Linked DNA regions of Homo sapiens: regions 2, 3, 4, 5, 6 and 7 are each linked to region 1. Evidence: promoter capture Hi-C in 16 types of primary human blood cells and fetal thymus (Javierre and others, 2016). All regions are on one chromosome and are shown on one strand. The core of a region is centred on a gene start or on the middle of the fragment in contact, and the rest is flanking DNA. Distances in the headings are between cores, read along the strand shown. Region 1 holds the start of CEP290 (centrosomal protein 290). Region 2 overlaps LOC105369890 (a long non-coding RNA gene). Region 3 overlaps POC1B-DUSP6 (POC1B-DUSP6 readthrough). Region 4 holds the start of DUSP6 (dual specificity phosphatase 6). Region 5 overlaps POC1B-AS1 (POC1B antisense RNA 1). Region 6 has its middle 50 kb from the start of POC1B-GALNT4. Region 7 overlaps POC1B-DUSP6 (POC1B-DUSP6 readthrough).

What was found. The method cuts DNA at HindIII sites, captures the fragments that hold promoters and counts their contacts. A CHiCAGO score of 5 or more calls a contact.
Region 2: a fragment that was not itself captured here is called in contact with the fragment with the promoter of CEP290 in region 1 in 1 of 17 cell types (non-activated CD4 T cells); the score reaches 5.4 in non-activated CD4 T cells.
Region 3: a contact is called between a fragment that was not itself captured here and the fragment with the promoter of CEP290 in region 1, in 1 of 17 cell types (activated CD4 T cells). The highest score is 6.5, in activated CD4 T cells.
Region 4: the fragment with the promoter of DUSP6 here is called in contact with the fragment with the promoter of CEP290 in region 1 in 1 of 17 cell types (total CD4 T cells); the score reaches 5.4 in total CD4 T cells.
Region 5: a fragment that was not itself captured here is called in contact with the fragment with the promoter of CEP290 in region 1 in 13 of 17 cell types (naive CD8 T cells, total CD4 T cells, naive CD4 T cells and 10 more); the score reaches 22.8 in naive CD8 T cells.
Region 6: a fragment that was not itself captured here is called in contact with the fragment with the promoter of CEP290 in region 1 in 1 of 17 cell types (naive B cells); the score reaches 6.0 in naive B cells.
Region 7: a fragment that was not itself captured here is called in contact with the fragment with the promoter of CEP290 in region 1 in 1 of 17 cell types (naive CD8 T cells); the score reaches 5.1 in naive CD8 T cells.

The regions. Positions count from the first base shown.
Region 1 is chr12:88,140,838-88,144,540 of GRCh38, forward strand. CEP290 (centrosomal protein 290) reads right to left here and starts at 1,251. Exons shown (of 54, transcript NM_025114.4): 1 at 1,063-1,251; 2 at 369-497; 3 at 119-196. The coding sequence starts at 470. TMTC3 (transmembrane O-mannosyltransferase targeting cadherins 3) reads left to right here and starts at 1,470. Exons shown (of 14, transcript NM_181783.4): 1 at 1,470-1,650. RefSeq lists enhancers at 1,091-1,530, 1,337-1,840. The HindIII fragment of the contact is 8,380 bases long and covers 1-1,713 here.
Region 2 is chr12:89,950,045-89,953,653 of GRCh38, forward strand. All of the region lies in intron 6 of LOC105369890 (a long non-coding RNA gene), which reads left to right. Among named protein-coding and RNA genes, the nearest start is that of LINC02399, 4.2 kb to the left of the region's middle. The HindIII fragment of the contact is 3,706 bases long and covers 1-3,478 here.
Region 3 is chr12:89,484,791-89,488,074 of GRCh38, forward strand. All of the region lies in intron 4 of POC1B-DUSP6 (POC1B-DUSP6 readthrough), which reads right to left. The region is part of intron 4 of POC1B (POC1 centriolar protein B); the gene reads right to left. Among named protein-coding and RNA genes, the nearest start is that of GALNT4, 38 kb to the right of the region's middle. The HindIII fragment of the contact is 984 bases long and covers 1,530-2,513 here.
Region 4 is chr12:89,351,212-89,354,560 of GRCh38, forward strand. DUSP6 (dual specificity phosphatase 6) reads right to left here and starts at 1,290. Exons shown (of 3, transcript NM_001946.4): 1 at 429-1,290. The coding sequence starts at 828. All of the region lies in intron 9 of POC1B-DUSP6 (POC1B-DUSP6 readthrough), which reads right to left. RefSeq lists an enhancer at 1-416 and a silencer at 2,236-2,545. The HindIII fragment of the contact is 9,767 bases long and covers 1-3,349 here.
Region 5 is chr12:89,526,520-89,529,763 of GRCh38, forward strand. The region is part of intron 1 of POC1B-AS1 (POC1B antisense RNA 1); the gene reads left to right. Among named protein-coding and RNA genes, the nearest start is that of POC1B-GALNT4, 1.9 kb to the left of the region's middle. The HindIII fragment of the contact is 4,188 bases long and covers 1-3,244 here.
Region 6 is chr12:89,574,940-89,578,348 of GRCh38, forward strand. No RefSeq gene overlaps it. Among named protein-coding and RNA genes, the nearest start is that of POC1B-GALNT4, 50 kb to the left of the region's middle. The HindIII fragment of the contact is 1,427 bases long and covers 903-2,329 here.
Region 7 is chr12:89,504,663-89,508,150 of GRCh38, forward strand. The region is part of intron 2 of POC1B-DUSP6 (POC1B-DUSP6 readthrough); the gene reads right to left. All of the region lies in intron 2 of POC1B (POC1 centriolar protein B), which reads right to left. Among named protein-coding and RNA genes, the nearest start is that of GALNT4, 18 kb to the right of the region's middle. The HindIII fragment of the contact is 1,819 bases long and covers 1,020-2,838 here.

The sequences.
Region 1 (3,703 bases), core at 1-2,500:
TTTTTAGTGGTGATGTAGATATTACCAGGTATTTTCACAAAGATTACCTTATATAAGAACAGATTTTTATAGTTCCACTAATAGCCAAACCTATAGTTAAAACCTACTACATACAAACCTTCATTAGTGACTGAGTAATTCTGAAAAGGTGTATCACATTTTCTTGCTTTTCACTTTTTAGCTCATTTACTTCCACCTAAGTAAACAGAAAAGCAACTGTTTTATATTTTATAACCTTCAAGCAAAATATAAGAACACTTCCAGATTGTGACAATTATAGTTGTCCCTGAAAAAAATAAATTCATATTTTATTAATAAATTAATCATAAGTTAATGTATATATCTATTATTATTGACCAATTAAGCACCTTGGATAAGGAAATCAATAAATTATCTGCCAGTTCTTCTTGACGGGGCAGGTCATCTGGGTCAACTTTCATTATTTCTTTCCAGTTTATATTAGGTGGCATCTTGAATTCTTTCACTGTGCTCCACCTCTGTAACAAAACAGGTGTATATTAGCATTTTCAAGGTACACAGTATTATTGGTTTTCTAGCACCTTACATTTTTTGCAGATTATTTCATTATAACTTTCTGATGTTAGCAAAACAGACAATTGGGCCACAAAATAGACAAGTGGGCAAAATAGCCTTGATCAAAAATAGCAGTCGGCACAAACTGTCAGAGTGTCCCGGCTAAATAAAATGTGACGGCTTCCTTGCTAACACTAATCTAAGTTAATACTTAAGATTTCTGGATCCCTTCCTCCACACCCCTACCCACAATGCGCGCGAACACCCTAATCCTGGCAAGCGCGAGGGTCTGTGGAAGGCCGACAATCATCCCTGATTTGGAGAAACAGAATTGGGGCTGAAAAAAAACGCAGAAATTAACATTTGGAATGAGTGAAGTTGTGCGGCGGAAACTGGAACCGAAGCAAGGCAGTATTAGGGACCCGAGGCTGGAAGGGCGGGGTAGCTATGCTGTGGCACACGGGCCCTCAGGCTAAAGAACCTGAGCGTGGAGTGACTCGCTAATCCTGCTTACAAGGATCCACCCACCTAGACCAAGCCTGGCAACCAGCGGAGGCCTCTCACTACCGCAACCACCAAGCTGGACCCGGCCGCGGGCCCTGACAGATCCCTATCGCGGTTCCACGCGGACTCTGGGTCCAGCCAAATGGTCCCGAGCAAGCCAAAGCGGCAGCGGCTGCTAGGCGACACCATCCCCAACTCCGCCAAGGCCAGAATAAGATCCCGGATGCCAGGAGAGCCTACAGTTCACGACCGTGGGTGATGCTTTACGTTTAGATTCTCCGCCGGAGTCCCAGAGCTCGGTGTTCAGGATGATGAGAAGGCGTGGAACGAGGACTTCAAATCCCAGAGTGCAGTTCTGCCTGAGGCTTCTGCATGCTGGGAACTGAAGTCCCTGAGAAGAGGAGGTAAGGCGCTCCCGGCATGCAACGCGTAAGACTGCGACGGTACCGGGGCGGCGGGGAAGGACCGAGAGGCGGGAGGAGCAGCGGCTCAGGCGCCTGCAAACTGGTGGCCTGAACGAGGTAGACCATGACTGTGGTTTCAGTGGCGTCACTCGCTGGGCTGCTCTTCCTGAGGTTTTCCTAAGCCATCCCCTGGCGGAACCGCCCCCAGGTGAGGTCGAGCTGTCGGTCAGCATATTGGGAGGAATTGAGGGGAGCAGTCCTGGGTTAGAGAAGCTTCTGCTATTGGGGCCGTAGGGCCTGGTCCCATTCTGAAAAAGTGGGAACACCCTGCCTTCTCTTCAGGCGTTTGCAAGCGGCGTCCAGGGTAGTGCCTTCTGTAAGAAGGAAAAAACAAAAAGTTTTAGCCTTGTTTAGTATCAGAATCTGTCTTGATAGTTAGAGTGAGAGCCGCGCAGCCGTGATCCTCGTTTGGGGGCGAGCGAAGAATTGACAAGAGGTCTCGGCATCCCGACCCCGCCCGCCTTACCTGTAGCACCATTCCTTTCGCGGATCGTGGGGCTTGATGGTTGTGGAGCTAGTATAAAGTCAAGGCTCTAGAGAGGAGAGGTTAGTACTTGTCCGGACCACTGCCGGGGGTGGAGAGAGAAGGGATCCAAGGACTCACCTGTACTATTGTTGCCACTTGCTTGGTTACCTAGGGTGCCCTTCCATGAAAGCGCCTTCTCTGGTGTTTACCACTCTTACTCGTGCAAGTTTTGCTCATCCTGCTCGTCTGCTCACAATCATGCTGGAGTATGATACATCTCTACCTAACTTTCCTAAGAAGCTGTAGACTTAAATCTAAATGACATTTCCAACTATCTGGACCAGTGCTTTGTCTTTTTTTTTTTTTAAACGCTGCTTTAAAAAAAAAATTACTGTACTTGACAGTAAATTTTCCTTTCGAAAATAAGTAATGAGTTTCTTTTTAAACCCCCAATTTGGGTAAAATAAGTAGCTCAGTACAAAATAAAAAGATACTGATTTTGTGAGATGAATTTTAAAGACATTAGTTAGATTTATAGGAATGACAATTTTACTACTTTTCTGAAAGATTATATGCCAAATACTATTCATTATCTTGTTTATTCTTCCTTACAATCCAGTGAAATAGGTGCTTACATTGTCCTCATTTTCCATCTGAGTTAAGAAACTGAGGCTTGGAGAAGCTAAGTAACTTAAATAGTGTGATTGAACACAGATCTCTCTGGCTGGAGGACATATTCTTAACTTCTATACACCTCCTCAGACATTCTGGGAAACCAATATTTGTGAAGTGCTTGTTCCTCAATCTTGCTATTTTTATTAAATGTTATATTTTAATTTTGTAAGTGTTTACTCAATAATTTGAATTAAACATTCTTCATGTTCAGTGTTCTTAATTCATAATTTAACATGGGATGGTGTTTCTGGAAAGGTGTTCTGATCTGGACCCCAGGAGAGGGCTCCTGGATCTCGCCAAGAAAGAATTGGAGGTGCATACACCCCCATTGGAGGTGGTAGACTAAGGATTGTTATAGTTATTTCTTGATTATATGCTAAACAAGGGGTGGGTTATTCATGAGTTTTCTGGGAAGAGGGTAGGCCATTCCTAGATCTGAGTGTTCCTCCCCTTTTTAGACTATATAGAGTAACTTCTTCACATTGCCATGGCATCTGTAAACTGTCATAGCACTGGTGGGAGTGTCTTTTAGGATGCTAATGCATTATAATTAGTGTATAATGAGCAGTGAGAACGAGCAGACGTCCCACCTTTCTCGCCATCTTGGATTTGGTGGGATTTGGCTGGCTTCTTTACTGCATGCTGTTTTATCAGCAAAGTCTTTATGATCAGTATCTTGTGCCCACCTCCTATCTCATCCTGTGACTTAGAATGACTGACAGACATCCTGAGAATGCAGCCCAGTAGGTCTCACCCTTATTTTACCCAGCCCCTATTCAAGATGGAGTTGTTGTGATTCAAATACCTCTGACAATGGTAGGAATGAAATTTAATAGTTACTGAGCACATGTTATGTCATACACTATGCTGACTACTGCGTGTTTGTTTTCATAATAGAAGTCTGTTTTCTCTAACACCTTTTCTTCTGTTTTTTTTTTCATTCGTTATAACTTATTTTTATGTATTCACTTACAAGTTTCGTTTGTCTGTATTACTCTTTTCTACCCTTCTGCCACCACCCTCTTGCTCACATTCATAAACTCAAGGTGCCTGGTCTCTA
Region 2 (3,609 bases), core at 376-2,875, 1.8 Mb after region 1:
AAAACAAGGCAGACAGGAAGACAGGGGCTTCCCTAGCGGTTGAATTAAGAGTTGTCAGGGGAAACATAGAAATACAATTATGAAACAGCTCAGTGCGATGTGTTAATATTGATTGTGATAATGATAGCAGTAGCATATGGATTAATATGTGGTAAAAGCTGCGGCCTTTTTCTTTCCTTTTAGAACTTTGCCTTTGATTACATATGCACAGATTTCTATGACACTGTTCAATAACTAACATCTATTGAGAACCAACTATTTGCCAAAATTTTACATTTAGTTTTAAAAACCATTATAGCCACCTTAAAAGTACATTGTGATACTAATTTTACAGATTCTTCCAAACTCAGTTTATCAGCCATCCCTGATAAGCCACTTAGGTCTCTCAGTCAAATGGTCCAGTGGAATCCTGTGGAGCTCTTAGAACGTTTGTAATTATGCAATTAATGATCATAATACTTAAAGTTTAATGTTCATGTTCTCTGCCAGTTTTTAGAGTGAGACAAGCACAATGCCTTGTTCACTGGCCCATCTCTAGAGCCTGGCATGGTAGCTGGCACACAGTGAAAGCTCAGTAGACACCTTTGGCTGAGATATAAAAAGACCAAGGCTTTCTGACTTTTGCTCAATTGTACACAAGTATTGAAACCTCAGCCAGGGGCTTTTCACTAAACACTCTGCCTGAGATGTTGTTTTGTCTTAAGAATTCAGAGTACATAGACATTCTATCCTCTTGGGTATTAATCACATTTCAGTAATCTAAAAAAGAGAAATAGTATTTTCCCTCTACTTTAAAGATGCAAAAAAAGAGTTTAGTGTCTTGCCTGAAGTCACACATGCTCTGTAATAATAAATAGGTTGATGATGATAACAATGGTAATGACTTACAAAAACATGGCAGGACTGGACTCCTAGCTTCCAGCTGCACGCTCTTTAGACAAAGATTTCCCAAACTTTTCCTTACCATATTTGACTGATTTAAAAAATATATATGTAAAATTCTACCATAATTGTTTTTACATTTGTCAATTTTTTTTCTTTTTTTGCCCTCTCTTTGAGGGCAACAACTTTATCTTTTCTCTATTTTCTCATGTTGGATTCTTTCACTTACATGCCAATTCAGTAAATGTGTGCTAAATGAATCCTGTTGCCAACATCCTTATGACTGCATGTGCTGGTTAGTATCTTTCTTCTTTTACTTGTGTCAGAATAGTGTAGGTTATCCTGTGATAACAACTCTAAAATTTCAGGTTATTTCTCATTCATGGTGTCAGGGAGAGCTTTGCTTATCACTGTCACATACGGAGTAAGGCTGAAGGAGACTCTGTCATTTTATGACACTGCCATCTAATGACGTCAGGCTTCAGGGTTCACCCCAGCAGGGGATGAGAAAGAGCTGGCAAGTCAAACACAAGCCATAGAAGCCTTAGTCCAGAGTGTCATTCACATGCCTTTGGGCAAAATGAGTCACATGGCAGCATCTAACTTCAAGGGAACATGGAAATGTAATCTCCTTTCTAACCAAAAGTAAATAATTAGAAATTGGTGGACATTAACAATGCCTATCATACAACCATCATCTATGGAGTCAGGCTTTGTGAAAGAAAGAAGGTAGATGCAGATAGGAAGCCAAAGGGGGAAAAAAAAGAGAGAAGATCTGGGAGGGGGAAAGATGGATAGGGAAAGGAGAGAGGAATAGCTCAACTGCTATTCTGACAAGATTAGCTCCATTTCCAAAGGAGAACTAAGCCCTTAAATAAACCAGTCTTGTCTTACCTGTGCCTCCGGATCATGCACATGACTCATTAGTGAGTTGATTATATTTTACCATTGTTGTTCATATTTTGTCGATGTTCTTATACCATTGTGGGTCATGGTTCATTGGGACAGACAATTTTTAAGGTTTCCTGGATTGTCTTTCATGCATGAGGTATAGAACTATAAAGATTGCTGCCTTCAACTTGAGGTAGGTGTGACAAAGAAATAAAACTAAGAAGTAGAGGTGTGTTTGCCATTGGAATGCGTCATTACTGTCTTCCTCATCTTTCTTTCACTAAGTAAAGTTTCTAACTATACTCCTTCCTTGCTGGGGTTGAATACCACAGAGGAAAGAGTTGTGAATATCTTATTTATCATTGTATTCTCAGAGTCTACAAGTACCAGGCAAATAGGTAGTGCTCAGTAGATAACTGCTCATTGGTGGCTTGAAAGGGGCAGCTTAGCAGGCCCAGTTATAGCATTTTTTTTTTTTTTTTTTTTTTTTTTTTTGAGACGGAGTCTCGCTCTGTTGCCCAGGCTGGAGTGCAGTGGCGGGATCTCGGGTCATTGCAAGCTCCACCTCCCGGGTTCACGCCATTCTCCTGCCTCAGCCTCCCAAGTAGCTGGGACTACAGGCGCCCGCCACTACGCCCGGCTAATTTTTTGTATTTTTAGTAGAGACGGGGTTTCACCGTTTTTAGCCGGGATGGTCTCGATCTCCTGACCTCGTGATCCGCCCGCCTCGGCCTCCCAAAGTGCTGGGATTACAGGCGTGAGCCACCGCGCCCGGCCGTATAGCATTTGTAATTAAAGGTTTATTTCCCAAAGTGGGCTCTTTGGGGAAGGGAATTGCAGAACTACTGAAGTTACCTTTCATCTGATGAGTTGTGCTGTAGGCAAGTTAAATAGGGAGGCTGTTTTTAATCTTTGAGTTGGGCCTTGGCAAGATTTGCTCAGTTGTTTTCTTTTCAGTTGGTAGTTTGGAAGTCCCAGCAGTATAGCTTATGGCTGACAGTCAATTAGTTGTGAATTTATTTTTAATCTTCAGCAAATGTCCCTTGTGAACAAACAAAGGGTGCATGATAATTACCATCAACTACTGTCTCTTCAACTCCCCTGTGTGCTTGGCAAAAGTACTGTGCAAAACAGACAAAATATAGTTCTAGTGTAAGGGATCTGACAGAGCAAATAAGGATCATTAACTTTGCCATAGTTTTTAAAAATAATTATTTTATGTGGGAGAGTGATTTTCTTATTATCTGATAAAGTGCTTCACGGAGGGCTAGAGATAGAAAGAAGATTATAAAAGAAAGAGGAATAAAGATAGAGCATGTAAATACCCAAAGGGGTCCTTTGATTACTGTACAAGTTTAATAATTAGAAAATAATATGATTACCAGTTGATGATGATAGTTTATGGAGGAGTTGATAAGAGGAACATTTTTGGTAACATTCTGGTACTTTTGTATGCTCATTTAACTGTCCAACTGCTATAGAATAAATGTTAGAATATATTTGATAGCCAAAGTATAATTCTGAGGCTGTTTCATTCATTAAAAAATAAAGAAAAGGAATAACATTATGTTTGTTATGTACAGAAACCCTTTCCTCATCCTTCAATCAGGGACAAACATCTACTCAATTGTAAATAAACCTTTAAAAATATATCTTTATCTGATTGAAAATAAAATTTTGGTGATAACTTCTGTTTGTGAATAGAAGCTTTTTCCAATTAAAGTGTTTAAAGATACTCATATACTTCAGAACAAATGGGTATTTGGTTTTTAATTTCTAGTTTTTGAATCCAGGATTATTTTTGCATCTTTAGGGGCACCAGTTTGATTGTTTTAG
Region 3 (3,284 bases), core at 772-3,271, 1.3 Mb after region 1:
CAAGCAAAGAGCAAGAGCTGGTCAGCAGCCTCCATCCTGGCTCAGGGGAAGGGTGACTGACCAGCAGTACTGATCACTGGCAGGTGCGTGGATGGGGAGATGGGCCCACCTCACTATCCTAACCTGAGAAAACTATCTAACAAGATTTTTTCTACAAACAACTCTTGCTTTAGTCCCAGGGCTCACTGAAAAGCCTTCTGATTATATCCTGACTTGGCAAAAGAAGAAGGCCCTGACTAAGGCATGCAAATGTTCCAGGCTCTCTGGCAGTTAGCATTGTCATTAAAAATAAGTAAACTGGCATCTGACTTATGTTTCAGACTCTCCTAAAGTTATTAAACATGACTCAAGCTCCCCAGAGCTTTCTCACCTTCAGGTATAGAGTGAAAATAGGACTTCTAGTCCTGCACATCTTTGAGAGTCCTGGATTAGAATGATTTCATCAAGGTTAAGTTCTCATGGGAAGATGCACAAAACACTCTGGGAGGCTGGGCCTTGGTGGTCAATCAGGCCCTCCAGACATTGGTCTAAACTCTCTTGTTCTAACTGCAATAAGGTAAGCCAAGAAGATATATTATAATACATGCATGAGAAAGAATCTGTAAGCATGTTGTAGTGTACATAAATAAAAAGTTGCCAAGAAGATGAAATCCTTATTCATTAAATTTAACCAACTTATTCATCAAAGAACATTCCTTGAGGACGGCCTCTGCAGAGTTTCACATTAATCATTCACTCCAAACAGTAAGAAAACTGATTTTTTAAAAAAAATCCCTCAGAACCTTAAGGTACCGGTAAGATAAAGACAGTCCATGAAGGCCAGGTGTGCCAAGTCAGCAACTGGCCAATTGAACAAGAGTCAACCAAAATGGACAAAGAAAGCAGTGAAGCCACATAAACATCTCCATGTAAAACATGCATGCACCAGTACTCCTGGATTTGCTAGAAAAGATTCACAAAAATAACTCTTCTCTGAAGAAATCCATGAAAATTACCTTTGCTTTAGAGATAAACCTAAGCCTACTCACCAACCTTTCACTGATTGATTCAACCATATTTTTGCACAACCCCTGACCCTTTCCCACCCTGTAGCTGATACTCTACAGTGCTTCTCAGATCATATCTGACCTATCTTGAACACTCTCCTGACACCGACCTTACTAACTTCCACAATATAGTCAAGTCTTGGCTCAAACGTCACCTTGGTAAATATGCCTTCCCTGACCTCGATATGTAAAAGACCACCTCCCAAACCCACCACTCTTCATCTTGTTACCCCCTACATCATTTTTCTCCAGAGTACTTATCACTAATATATTTGCTGTCTGTCTCTCTTCAGTAAAGGAAGCTCCACGAGAGTAGGAATTTTGTGTTTTATTTTCTGCTGTATTCATACAATTTACAACAGTGCCTGGCAAGAGAATACAACATAAATACTTGTAATTCGAAGTCTAATAGGGAAGAGAGGCCTAAGCTGATAAACAGACCTCATAAGAAGGGCAATGTGGTGGCATAAAGGAGTCACAATAAGCTTGGCCCAGGAGAAGCAGAAACCTTTCTTGGAGGAAGAGATGCAGAGCAGGTTGTGAAGGAAGGGTGGAAGCAGGGGGCGTCCCAGCATGGAAATCACCATATGGAAAGGCACAAGGCAAAAAGGGTCATTCACACTTGAGGAGACTTGTCTGGCTGCAAGAAGGTGAATGGTGAAAGTGACAGAAGAAAGACAGAAAGTGACAAAAGAAAGATAGGAGGGCAGTGCACACACACGCCAGGACAAGGAGTCACTGAGGGGTTTTAAGGCAAGAAACAGCATGACTAGATTTGTTTTTCACAAAAGCAGAGATGCAGGGGTGGAGGGTGGGAGGAGGTAATCTGTGGTCTGAGAGACCATTTAGGAGATTCCTGCAACAGTCTGCACAAAGGCCAATGGTGCTAAAACTACAGCAGCTGCGTTGAGGATGGAGCTAAAATGAATGTCTTGACCGGGTAAGAAGATTTCACTTTTCAAAACTCTGCTCCAGTATCACTTCCTATGGAAAGCATCTTTTTTAGGATAAAACAAAAAAGGAAAAGGCAATTTTTAAAAACTCTCTCTTTCTCTCTCTCTCTCTCTCACACACACACAGACACACACACACACACAGACACACATACACACACTCTCTATAATACTTTCAGGTATGGCTGTATCCAGAAACCAAATCATATGATTAGACAGAAATTCATTCTGTCTTCATCTCACAGCTCTGCTCTCTTCTGAATTAATATTATTTTTAGGTCAGTTCTTTGCCCAGGGTGTCCCTCAGCAGTCACAGGCTTAAATAAGCCTAAACACTGCCAACCAAGAGGAAAGGCCCATGGTTCCAACAAGACTCACTCCTCCAGGAGGGGATGCTATGTTTCCGTGGGCGAGCCTGAGCTGACTGTCCGCTCTGGAACTGGAGATAGGGCCACTCCTGCACTCCTGCACATGACACGGAGAGGACAAGGGGGCAAGCTGGTTCCTCAGGGCAAGCTTGAGCACTGCTACCAGAAAACAGGGAATAGGCAGACAGAAGTGCAGAGTTCCACCATCGTTTTCTTCTCTCAAATTGATAAAGGGGAAGAACATTTTCAGTGACTCCTCCCCGGTTCCAGAGTTTCTCCCTAAATAGCACCCAGCTGGAAGAGAGGTAGTCTTATGGCATCACTCAGTCCCAAACACCGTCAACTGGTACTTCTTATCCTCAGTCCAGTGAGAGAAGCCTCAATACCCTCAAGTTCCACAGAGGCTGAGAGCAGGGAGCTAACTTGCTCCAGGGTGATGCTATGGTGCAGGCAGGCATATGAATATTGGATAGTTTTGTCCCATATGCTCCCTGTGTTCTGACCACAGCTGAATAATTAATGTTCCTGGAGCACACTATGTACCTGCAGGCCACAGTGCTTTGCTCCTCCTGGCTCCCTCATGAAGACAGCTTGCCTTCCCTCTTCGCACCTGACAAATATGCCACTGCCTCCTCTTCCCCTTCTCTCCCCTCAGCTCTGGGACTGAAACGGCTTTCTTGACTTTTCCTCACACAAATCTTGTTCAATTCTCACTTATTTATTACTCCCTTATCATCTTTTGTGCCACTTTTTCCCTTAGGACACACCATTTTATAACTATTTAGTATCATGTTTCCCCACTGAAGTAACTGTCGGCTCCCTGAGGCCAAGACTGTGTCTTTCATCTCTACATACTTAATATAGCTATATGGTACAGGGCAGTGACTATACTTATTAAAGTAATATTTTGAAGACCA
Region 4 (3,349 bases), core at 40-2,539, 1.2 Mb after region 1:
GCCAGGGAACCCTTATTCGCTTGAATCCGGAAATAGACAAAATGGCAACTTTTTGGAATATTTTGAGAGCTAAGATGTGCCAATTTGCATCCCCAACAATCTCTCCCGTCCTGCAAATCTTAATTCAAAATCGAACGATAGAAAACAGGGTGATGGTGGAGGATGTTCTGGCTAAGAAGGCGCAGAACCCGTTAGAAAGAAACCGCCGGTACCCGCAGCCGGAAGCGAGTGGATTCTGAGCCGGCCCGGTTCTCTGGTGCGGAACGCGCGGTTCGCGGCCCCTACCTCGCCGGCTGCCGGTCCCTAGGCGGGCAGCGCGGCTCCGAAGCTCCAGCTGAGCGGAGCAGAGGTATTTTCAATCCACGCGCCCCGCCCGCAGCCCTGCGCCCCTAGCCCTGCCCCGCGCGCGGAGTTCCCTGGGCGCGTACCTTCCAGGTAGAACGCCCGGCAGCCCTCGTCCTTGAGCTTCTTGAGCAGCAGCCCGAGCACCGACTCGCCGCCCGTATTCTCGTTCCAGTCGCTGCTGCTCTCGTCGTAGAGCACCACTGTGTCGGTGCCACAGCGCCGGGTGAAGCGGTCCCGGTCCTCGCCGCGCGTGAAGAGCGCGCGCACCGGCAGGTTACCCTTCTGCAGGCGCCGCAGCATGATGCCCGGGATGGCCACGTTGATGGCCGACTCGATGTGCGACGACTCGTATAGCTCCTGCGGCCGGCAGTCCATCAGCAGCAGCCGCTCGTTGCCCAGCTCCAGCTGCTCGTTGAGCCACGCCACCGTCTTGCTGATCGCCATTTCCGACGCGAAGGGCACGGGTCTGAGCGTATCTATCATGGGGGTCGAGCTGCGGGAGAGGGCGGGGTGCCTACCAGACGCCCCTCGGGGCAGGCATAGGCCGAGCGCACCGCGCGCGAAGCTGCCGCTCTCGGAGCGGGGTTTAATTCCGCCTCGCCTTACCCAAGCCGAGGCTAGCGGTTGGGGCAGACGAGACAGAAGTAAAGCCGGAGGTTCTCTCTGCACCCAGCTGCAGCCGCTGGCTCTTAGTGTCAATGAATCTCTCTCAATGAAGCTGCCCAGATAGTTTTTGTTCCTCCCCAGTGAATGAAATCCAATTAATTCGGACTCCGTGCTACTGAGAGGGGAGGAAAAAAAGTCTAGCGGCTTCTAATCCCTCCCTCCAAGGCTGCACCTCAAATCTACCCGGGCGTCTTTCTCCCCGGATTATTTAAGACTCGATTTGCTATCTCTTGGACTCAGCCTCGCACACCCCCTGCGCGAGGCAGCTCCTCAATGGATACAAACAGCGAGCGTCTCAATGGATACATTCTCCGGGCCAGCCAATGAGCGTGCTGCGGAAGGGGCTGTTGCCGTGGGGACGGGCCGGCTGGAACAGGTTGTGTTGATGAATTGTTAATGAGTTTGTCATTCACAAAAACGGAAAGGAATTTCCGCTCCGGATAAGCCCCAGTGCAAACAAGCTGCAACAGCGGGCTCGGCGGGAGGAAGGAGAAAGAAGGGGAGGCGGCAGCGGAGGAGGAGCAGGGCACATAAACCAGGGCACTTCAGTTGTCTCATGTTTCCTTCTGTTGAGAGTTCACACTTCGCGTCGGAACTTTTGCGCACCAATGGCGCAATTAGCATGCACAAAAGCCCTTGTTCGCGACGCTTGCGTTCGCGAGCTAGCTTTAGGAAAACTTGTGCTGACTTTTCGTTCTTTGTATTCCCTTCAAACTCATTTGGACCCAAGTTCGCCTTAACCCTCCCCTCCCCCAACCCCCCTTCTTTAGGCGGTGTGTGGCATTTGTTTGCCACTTTTAAAGGCCCAGCTCTGTTTGCTCTGATGTTCTTTTAGCCGAGGCTGTGTTGGGGCTGGTGAACTGACTGGGCTTTAGTGACCGATGAGGTGTTAAATGCTAATCCAACATATTTCGAAACAAACCAGGATTTTGTTGAAACATTTTAAAGCAAACAAACAAACGTCTGGTTGTGCAGAAAATCAGAAGAAAACCTTTTTTCTTAAAATAACATTTTATTTTCATTAAAACAATGTAGAGTGCAGAAACAAACTCTTAGGTCAGTCCAGTGCTTTTACTGTATTCCGCTCCGGCGGCGTGGGGAGTTACAAGCCATTGTTCGGGGGAATCTATATCTCTCCCCCCGCCCCACCACCACCATCGCCTGCTGGGAGGTCGCGCTGGTTAATGATTTCTGGGCAAGGAGCTCGGCTTCTGACGGGGGAGCCGGTCTGGCGGGGCTGCCTGAGCGAGGTGTGCTGGGACGCGCCGGGCCGGGCCAGCAGTCCCCGCCATGGGCGAGGCGTGAGGAAGTCCTCCCGCAAGACCTGCAGGCTGCGGGGGCTCGGCAGGGGGGCTCGACGATTGGTTACAGTTGGCAGGGAGGCATGTCAGAGGGGGCCTCCCCAGCCCTCTCCTGCCGCCGCCTCCTCCCTTTGTCCAGCGCCGGGCACTCCGGGGAGCACCAGCCGCGCCTGCGCGCTGCGCTCCCTGCCACCGCCCCGCCGTCCCCGTCTCCCCGCTTGGGCACGGGGCTGTGCGCGACGCAGTGGACGGGTGCGGGGCTCAGCGAGGGACTCCCGGGTCCATAGAGATCTGGGGAGGGTGGGGGGAGCAAGGACGAGTGCCTGCCGGGACCCCCCTGGCTCCTCGCTCCCAAGGAGTCGAGGGGAACGTCTCTACCGCGCTGCAAAGCCAGCAGGTAACTTTGGGGAGGTGCGGGCCAGGCCAGCGAGCAGCACTCGGCCCAGGCGCCGCGGGGCGGACGGATTGGAAGCCGGATGGAGGCGTGGCCGGGTGGGGGCCGCGGCGGCGGGGAGGCGCGTTCCCGGCGCGCAGAGCTCTATTGTTATATAAAAGTGCCGAAGCCTGCCCCTCCCGAGCGGAAAACCACCTGTGTGCGGCCGGCGCGGCGCGAGAGGGATGCAGCCGGAAGGCGCGGGCCCTAATCCGGCCTTCCCTCCCTAAACCCCGGCGGAAAAGAGGCCGCGCTTTGTCCCACCGCTGCCTGAGAGGCGGAAGCGGGGGCAGCCGTCCGGCGGGGTGCGGCTTTGGGGAGTGTCCCTTGCTGCGCTTTGCGCCTACCGTGAACACCGCGAGGGCGCCTAAGGTCGCGGGGTCTCCCTTCGCCCGACGCCCCGCACCCACGGGCATGCCTGCTAACACCCCCGCTGCAATTTGCATTTTTAGTCACCCGCCTCTTCCCTGGTTTGGGAAATGTAGGCTAAAAAAAGGCGGCTGCGAGGCCTAGGTTGCCAATTTTGGAGCTCTGCTTCAGGCAGGCCGCCCCTGGAGGAGCGTGTTCGACAAAGGTGGGGATTGCCGAGCTCCTCTCCGCACCA
Region 5 (3,244 bases), core at 671-3,170, 1.4 Mb after region 1:
GTTGTGCATGCACTTAATAATTTTCTGCGATATGTTTCCATTCTCATCTGCTTATTTGCGTATACCTTAGAGCACTAAACTTACACAGCTGGATACTTAAAGTCTTTAGGAAGACTTGGAAACATGGTTTTTTTTGTTTGTTTTTTGTGAGACCACGTTTCTACAGCAGGCTTTGTTACACATAGTATCATTTGTGCTTCAGCCAAACAATGAAGTTGGTAGAATTACAAAATGTTTTCAATGTTTCCAAGTTATAAACTTGATTCCTAGATATTGGTCTTAGAGGTCACACAGAGACAGTTCTTCTAATTCCAAGTCCATATCCTTTTTTTTTTTTTAACCCTGCCTCAAAGCGTGATGTTCTGAGCTGAAAATTACATATAGTGTAAAGATCCTTAGCAACATCAAAGGGCATGATAGAACACAGCTGGTAAGACATGTGTTTTATGCAAATGAAAGGTATGCTACACACCTTAATTACAGATTCCCTAGTTGTCTAGTGATTGAGTTTAATTTTATTGAATATGGTACTTAACAACTAAACAGGTAGGCTTTAGATTACAGTATTAGTTAATTTAAGTATACACTTGTTAAATATCTGTTGTATGTTTGGCCTTGAGGGACACAATGATGACTAAGATATTTCCCCTACCTTCAAGAACTCAGCAATCTAGGGTTGGTGAGTCTCATGCTTTAGCATTTGTAATGTTGATTTGGGGGCTCCATTTCCAGAGATGCTGAATCAACATATACAAGGTGGGATCCAGGGCCCTTCTGATGTAACAAGCTCCATAGATGATTACTATGGGAGTCTCAGCTGTCTATGTTGAGAAACACTGCATTAGTCTAGGAGATGATATGTTAAGAGTGTTGATATCAGCAACTTGTCAGCAAACTGTTGCAGGACTCTTAGTTTTGCTACATATTACCAGTTTAGGCTTGATTTATTTTAAAAGCCTGCCATGTTTAAAACTAATGCTGGATACTGGTGGGAATGTAAAATGATGTAGCTCTGTGAAAAAGTTTGTCAGTTCCTAAAAAGTTAAACATACAATTACCTTATAATCCAGCAATTTCACTGCTAGGTATATCCCATAAGTATTGAAAGCAGAGACTCCAACAGATGCCAGTGTTCAAAGCAAGCATTATTTACAATAGCCAAAAAGTGGATACAATCCTAGTATCCAACAGATGAATGGATAAACAAAATGTATGTGATATATACATATAAGGAAATATTATCCTGCCATAAAAAGAAATGAAATTGTGATACAAGCTATAACATGGATGAACCTTGAAAACATTTTGCTAAGTGAATAAGCCAAACACAAATGAGCATATATTGTATGATTCCATTCATATGAGGTACCTAGAATAGGTGAATTCATAAGGACAGAAAGTAGAATAGAGGTTACTAGGGCTGGGGGTAAGGGAGACTGGGGAGTTACTGTTTAATGGGTGCAGAGTTTCTGTTTGGGATGATGAAGTTCTGGAAATAGATAGTGGTGATGTTTGCACAACATTGTGAATGTACTTAATGCCAGTGAATTGTACACCTAAAAAATGGGTAAAATGGTAAATTTCATTACAGGTATTTCACCCCAATAATAAAATAATAATGCCAGAAGCTGAAGAGTAATCAGGACCTCAGGATTACTCATAGGTATGTTACGTCTAATATTGGGCACAGGAGAAGCAGAAAAGGGAAGAAGTTGGAGATTTAGAAACTAGCTCACAAGAAGAAAAAATATAGATTTTTATTTAAGTGTTTTAGTAAAAGTTTAGCTTTTACTTTTTTTCTCAATTATCAAGAAACACATGTTTTAAATTTAAAAGATGGGAGGGAAACTACATATTAATCCTATTACCTAAAGTTGATCTTAAAAAATTTGTCACCTACTGATATGGTTTGGATTTGTGTCCCCACCCAACTGTCATGTAGAATTGTAATCCCCAGTGTTGGAGGAGGGGGCTGGTGGGAGGTGATTGGATCATGGGGGTGGATTTCTCCCTTGCTGTTCTGAGTGAGTTATCACGAGATCTGGTTGTTTAAAAGTGTGTAGCACTTCCCCCTTTGCTCTCTTCCTCCTGCTCCAGCCATGGAGCAGCCATGCTCTCTTCCCCTTTGCCTTCCACCATGTTTGTAAGTTTCCTGTGGCCTCCCCAGCCATACTTCCTGTACAGCCTGCAGAACCATGAGCCAATTAAACCCGCTTTTTTTGTAAATTACCCAGTCGCAGGTAGTTCTTCATAGCAATGTGAGAACGGACTAATATACCTACCTATGTTTTCACTACATGCCAGGACTTTTCTAAGTACCTTACAAATTTTGACATTTAGTGATCATAACGATCTTATTAGAGATGTGCTATTATTACCATTTCCGTTTTATAGATGAGTAAATTGATATGCAAAGACATTAAGTTACTTGCCCAAGGCACACTGCTAACTAGGAAGTGGCAGAGTTGAGATTTTTAGACACTCGCAGTCTGCCTCCAGAATCCACTCTCTCTTTTTTTTTTTTTTTTTTGAGACGGAGTCTCACTCTGTCGCCCAGACTGGAATGCAGTGGCGCGATCTCGGCTCACTGCAAGCTGCTCCGCCTCCCAGGTTCACGCCATTCCCCTGCCTCAGCCTCCCGAGCAGCTGGGACTACAGGCGCCCGCCACCAAGCCCGGCTAATTTTTTTTGTATTTTTTTTTTAATAGAGACTGGTTTTCACCGTGTTAGCCAGGATGGTCTCAATATCCTAACCTCGTGATCCGCCTGTCTCGGCCTCCCAAAGTGCTGGGATTACAGGTGTGAGCCACCTCACCTGGCCCAGAATCCACTCTCTTAATCACTGTCATGACTTTTGTGTGATTGCAAGTGTTATGTAAATGTATAAAACATTGCATTCTTGCCAAGGTTTATAATAATAAGTTTTACAAAATGAAAGTAATATCTCCTTTATTTTCATTCCACTGTCCTCATTTATTACTCTAAACTGCCCTTCCCATTGTTCTTTTCCATAGTATTTGATTTTGTTCTTTTCGGCTTTTCTTCACCTTTGCAAATAGCAAAAGCTCAGAGGTAGACAATTGGAAATGTGGTCAAAGTTGGGGAAGTTTTTTCTAACCTCAAGCCTAATTCCACTTGCTACAATGATTATTTAGACCTCTCTGGACTGCAACCTAATCATTTATGTGGGTGGGAGCCACAAGCAGGATCAGTATTTAAAAACCTACAAGGTTTTACTGGAGGC
Region 6 (3,409 bases), core at 366-2,865, 1.4 Mb after region 1:
CATTCCAAAGCAGGCTCTGCTTTTTGGAGAGGTAAAAAATATGTCAGCAGTCCGAAGTGAACTGCTCAAAGCTGGCTCTCATAAGAAGATACTCACTTTTCAAGAGTTAAGGGTCACAGCAAAGGGCCCTCTCAACTCCACCTCCTTGGTGACATTAAGGGGAGATAATTAAAACAGAATGGGCTCCTGCAAATGTGTTGCATTATCTCCTGGTTGACTCAGCAATTCCACAGGAGGCTGAAAGTTTAATGAAGAGCAGTAAGAAAGACATCTGCAAATCTGACAATAACCAAGAAGTTTGCAAAAAGAAGTATGCAGAAATGAAAGTTCATTTTCTCATGTCATAAATTACTTTATAGTATCCTTGCTTTCCCACTCTTGTTAAAAAAAAGGTTTTTTTATTTATTTTTATTTTTATTTTACTAACTCACTTAAATATTTACATGTAGAATCAGACCTGGCAGCAAATTCAAAGAAATCTGTTAAGGACGGCAAAAGTTGCTTCTGTATCAGAGGCTTTGAGACTCCAGGTCTCAATTAACCTTTCTAAATAGGAACTGACAGACTTGAATGTAAAATCAGAGTGGGTGAGGGGAGGGGAGACTAAAATGTTTTTGAAGAATGTTTGACTACAAAGTAAACAATTTGAACAGAAAATATTACATCAGATGCTGCCTCCACATTCCATAAAACTGTATATACAGTAAAATGTACTGTACAGTTGAAAGACATGGATAAAAGAAATCATAAAACATTTGAGTTTTGTGATGATCCAAACTTCATGGAATTAGTTGTGTTGGCATAAGACAGAGTTTTTTTTTGTTTTTTTTTTTCTGTTAGATCTTGACATGAAGTTTGTACAGATGGCATTGAAAGCATAACTTTAGAGATATTTATCTTTAAGCTTTCTTTTCCTTTCTGTCATCAAATTGACCCATGAGTACAAATTTACTAGGTATTATTATTTATTTCAGGTATGTTATTTCATTTTGCTAACCAAAATGTTATCAGTATTATTTTGCACAAAATAGCACACTACTTATTATTCATTTTCAGGATTTTGCTTTGAATGAAAGCAAAAGGAAAGTTAACTTAGCAAATTTACAGCATAATCAAGATTGTAAGGGGAAAGGTTTAAATGTTAGAAAACAACATGTCAAAAGCACCCATTTATAAGCCAATGTTTCATTGTCAGTTTCCAAATTAGTATCAAACACAGCTACTCTCTCCATTTAAATGATGTTTACATATCTAAAAGCAATACAATCCCTTATCTCCAAGAATCTGGTTAATCAGATAAGCCTTTCTCATTAGCTTGTGTTAGAGAGATTTTTACTGTATTTTAAACAGCTGTAATTCAATAAATCTGAAAGAGTAGGGAATTCAGCACTACTGCTTACCTTATGAGTTTGTAGATCATGAAGAAATATCATTATCTCTCCTGCTTCATTGTACCAGCTGTTTTCAGTATGGACTGTTCCTATTTTTCCCATATGGCAAAACCTCATCCATCTCTGTTCTTGCCCATGGACTTTGTTAGATATTCTTTAACCCTGGGTCCCCATGCTTGTTGAAGTTAACCCTCTAACATACCCTGTTTGACATCATTATTGCACGTAGTGTGGTATTATAATTGTTCATATGGGGGATTCTTTTTCATCTTGGTTTCCCTTCTGCCTAGCATAGTCCCTGCGTAGGGGAGATGTGCAATGGTTTCTGAAAGAGAATCCAAAGCATCACTTTGAGTTATTAGAGTAACAAGGCTGCTTGTTACTGCAACACTGCCTTGCCATTGCCACTCAACTTGGGTCTTCCACACTTGCCCCTTGGGACTATTGTCATTTGATGCACTTCCTATTTAGCCTACATCATCTCCCTCTCTCTGAGTGATGGAGAAATGGCTTCTCTGTTTATGTCCTTCTCTCCACTTTTGGGGGTCTCACAGAAGAATGGCTTGGGCCACTGCTTATTATGTTTCATTTTATAGCCCTTTTGGGGAGAAGGCAGACTTCCCATACAGTTGCTGAGGACATTAATCACACAGCATTTTCACTCTCACTTCTTTCTTTCTCAGGGACAGCCTCATTGTGAACCAAGATCCTTTGCTCTCTTCCTCTCAGCCAGCCTGGTCAGAGATTGATGGCCCATGCCTTATACCTTCATATATGCAAACTTTTTAAAAAAGTGTTTCTTGTCCCATCTTGCAATTTAAATTGCAGTGGCCCATTCCTAAATCCATCAACTGAATGTTATATATCTGAAACCCCAGCTGTGTACAGTTCCAATGGTTTGGCTAGATATGAATGATGGTATTCACACAGAGAACACAAGCTTCCAAATATATACACCAAAATTTTAAGTCTGTGTGATATGCTTAATGGTAGTTTTCTTTGTCATTATATACTTTGCCAACTTAATAGTGAGCACAGATTATTATTATAATCTGAAATAAAAACCAAAGATATTTATATTTGGGAATGTTTCATAAGAAATATAACACAAAATTTCCCATATAAAGTGGTTACCAATTCAATGCTGAAAGCAATGTTTCAAAAGAGAAAGCATAAAAAGCTAAGTTGTTTTTAAAGTAAAGCTATTAGCTATAATTCCTTTTGGGTCTATTTTCAAATGAATTCAATTAGTCTCATGGTAAATATCAAAAGAGCTTTATCTTATTTTATTTTATTTTATTTTATTTTATTTTTGAGACAGAGTCTCACTCTTTTGCCCAGGCTGGAGTGCAGTGGCGTGGTCTCGACTCACTGCAACCTTCGCCTCCTGGATTCAAGCGATTCTCCTGCCTCAGTCTCCTGAGTAGCTGGGATTACAGGCATGCACCACCACACCCAGCTAATTTTTGTATTTTTAGTAGAGGCGGGGTTCCTCCATGTTGATTGGGCTGATTTTGAACTCCTGACCTCAGGTGATCCGCCTGCTCCAGCCTCCCAAAGTGTTGGGATTACAGGCGTGAGCCACCGCGCCTGGACTCAAAAGAGCTTTACATTTTTATACATACTAATAACGACTTAATTAGTACAGATCCAATTGTCAATTACCCATGTTATCTGCTTTCCAACTTATTTGGGCTGTTTCCCTTTCCAGAAACCAGAGAGGGGAAGAAAAAAAGCACAAAAACAAAATAATTTGCTCATTTGTTATTTGCATTAAGTAATTTTGGAGAAGATTGAAATTATCTACAAAAGTGAATCTATTATTTGTGGGTTTTCCAGTTCCACAGGCAATCGAGAGCCACTGTGAAGTCTCTTCCTGATAGACCAAACCAAATTTATGACTTCCAGAAATCTCCAGATCCAAGGGTCAAGGTTGTGTCGCTTTCAATGGACAAGTTCTGCCCAGGTTCTTCAGTTTTGAGAAAAGGAAAACCAGTAACACAAAATTCAATACTTTT
Region 7 (3,488 bases), core at 679-3,178, 1.4 Mb after region 1:
ATTTGTACTGTGCAAAAATTAAGAAGTTTTGTTCACTGAGAGATACCACTAACCAAGTAGAAAAGCAAGCCACCAAGTGGCAAAGAAGATATTTACAACACATATATCCAACACATAACAAAGTGTGCATATACAGAATCTATAAAGAATGCTACGAATCAGCCAGGTACAGTGGCTCATGCCTGTAATCCCAGCAATTTGAGACGCCAAGGTGAGAGGACCACTTGAGGCCAGGAGTTTGAGACCAACTTGGGCAACATAATGAGACTCCATCTCTACAAAAAAAATAAAATTTAAAAAGAATGCTACAAATCAATAAGAAAAAGGCACACTACCCAACAACAACAACAAAAATAGGCAAAGGACTTAAACAGGCACTTTGCAAAAGAAGATACCCATATGGTCAATAAACATATGAAAATGTGCTCAATTCCATTAGTCATCACGAAAACGTAAATTAAAACCACAATGAGATATCCGTGCACACTCATCAGAATGATTACAATGAAAAAGATAAATAACACCAAATCTTGGTGAGGATGTAGAACAACTGGAATGTTCATATACTACTAGTGGTTATAACCACTTTGAAAATCTATTTTGAAATATCTATTGAAGCTGAATATATACTTAGTATTTGATTCAGCAATTCCACTTCTAGGAATATACCCACAGAAATTCTTATGTATGGTTAGCAAAAGACATGTGCAATGTTTGTGGCAATACTATTCACAATAGATCAAAGCTAGAAGCCCAACTATCCAAGTAAAATGAATACATAAATTGTGATATATTCATGTTGCATACCCACTGTGTTAAATTTTACTTATATGAAGTTTAAGAAGAAGCAAAATTAACCTATGAAGTTAGAAGCAAACATAGTGATTATGTGGATGGCAGGGAGGGAGTATAGTGGCTGGAAGGGAACACAAGAGGGGACTTCCGGAGATGCTGGTAATGTTATGCTTCTCACTCTGGGTTTTGGTTAAATAAGCAGGTCACATTCTAAATATTCATCAAGCTTTACAGTTATATGATTTGTGCAATTTTTGGAACATATCAATGCTTCAATAAAACATTTAGGAAAAAGCAGAAAACATCACTCTAGCTGTTGTGTGGAGAAGCTACAAGGGGCAAGGGACAGATCTATTAGGAGGCTACTGCAATCACGCAGTCAGGAGAAAGCAGTGGTCTGGACTAGACTGCGAGCCTTGGAAGGAGGAAAAAGAGTCAAAATCAAGATATACTGTAGGGTCTATGAGACTTGCTAATGACTAGATGTGAGGGAGAGAAAAAGAGAAGATGCTAGAATTTTGGCCTGGGCACTGAAGTGAGTTTTAGTGCCATTTAATGAGATGAGAAAGACCAGAAAAGGAGATCTGAAGTGATACAGGTTGGGGTGGACATAGTAGTTTTGAGATGCCAATTAGACATACAAGTGAAAATGTCAAGTAGGAAGATGGATATACCCCGCCTGGAGCCCAGGGAGAGGTTCTGACTGTACAGTGTGGTGGTTAAAAGAACACCCTGTGAAATTAGACTCACTGTGTTCAAATCCATGCTGTCACTTACTGCTGTGTGCCCTTGGGCAAGTTATTCCACCTCTCTGTGCCCAGGACATTTCATTTGCAAAATGAGGTGTTAAAAGTATTAAAGGAAATAGTACTTGCAATTTATGCCTGCCACATGAAAAATACTCAAATGTAGCTATTATTGCTAAAGTTTTCTCTGTTAGTAGTAACTTAGAGAAAGTACTAAAGACTGTAAACTAGATGGGATCACTGAGGAAATCAGTACAGATAAAGAAGAGGTTGAGGACACTTAACGTTCAGATAAGGAAGAGCAAAGGAAGGAGCCACAAACGAAGTAGGAGAGGAACAAGGACATTGTGGTGTCCAGGAAGAGAAGGAGCATTCCAAGAGGGTGACAAGTGTGTCAAATGAGGTTTAGTAAAATCAGGCCTGATCAGGACCTGCTACATAATTTGCAGGGCCTAGTGCAAAACGTAAATGTGAAGCTCTTATAGGAAAATAATTAAGAATTTCATAGCATTAAACTAAGCATGGGGCCCTGTGCAACTGTACAGGAGGTATGCCCACAAAGCTGGCCCTGGGCCCAAGAGAGAGGAGGTTCCAGCGGGGCTTCCTGGGTCGAGTAGGGGCTCAGAAAGCTGTGAAACTCACTCATTTCCTGCATCAGGACTTACTTTGGTCCTGGATAAATAATATTGAAGATATATACTTAAAATATTCCTAACATCAGAATTTGTCCATGTGTTTTCTTCCTCAAGAAAGTGGGATCAAAGCCAGAAAGGCATGGAGTCAGAAGAAAATAGGAGGGAGTTAATACATATTATATAACATATTACGACCCCCAAGGCAGCAGATCACTTCAGCCCAGAAGTCTGAGACCAGCTGGGCAACGTCTCGAAACCCCGTCTCTACAAAAAATAACAAAAAAATTAGCTGGGCATGGTGACCTGCACCTGTATTCCCAGCTACTCTGTGGGGGTGGGGGAGGCTGAGGTGGGAGATAGAGGCTGTACTGAGCCACGATTGCGCCACTGCACTCCAGCCTGCTCCAGACAGAGCAAGGCCCTGTCTCAAAAAAAAAAAAAAAAAAAAAAAAAACTATGAAAACCAACATTGAATTTCCCTCTTTACTTCCTTAACCTTCTTTCTTAGGAAAGAACTGTCCTACCAAACCCTAATACCATGATAATAAAATGTATTTGGTTATTGATGTCAGTGTTGTACTGTGTCAACTTGGAATTTGCTTTCATACATTTCCATTAAACCACACCCTATATAAACATTACCACATAATTTAAAATGTCAAAGCTTGTACCATTCATCTTCAACGGGTCTATTTCGAGATAAAATGTCAAAAGGGAGGAAATTAAGGGAAAACATTAACTAGTAATCTACCAGTTTAAAAAAACTATTTATGTTCTATAACAATAATCCATTGTTTCAAGAAATCCCTGTTGGCAGAAGAAAGAACAAAGCCCATGCTTACCTAGGTCAGTGCTTTGTCTCTGGAGGTGACAACAAAGAACAACAAATGGAAAACATGTTTGCTCTTTGTCTGTCACACAATGTCCAAATGGCCACCCGTCTTTGTGTCACCTTAAGTACCAATAACTTCCTTGAGTCAACTCAAGCTTTCTCACTCATTGATTTGACCAAAATCAGCTGCAGTTACTTAGAGGCTCTGTCTGGAACACTATTTTCTGAAAAGAAATGTTACCGTCTCCAGTTTTTTGTTTCTTACAAATTATCTTACGTATCTTTTCAGTTGGTAATATGTGTACCTGAAACAGAATTCCAATATTACAGAATTCCAACATTACAAAACAGCATTTAATGAAATCTCCTTCTAGTCCTTGGCAACCTGGTTCTCCTTCCCAGAAGCAACCAGCATTACTAATTTCTGGGGAATCCTTTGTGCTTATACAAATGTGTGTGTCTATTCTCATATGCTTTTTA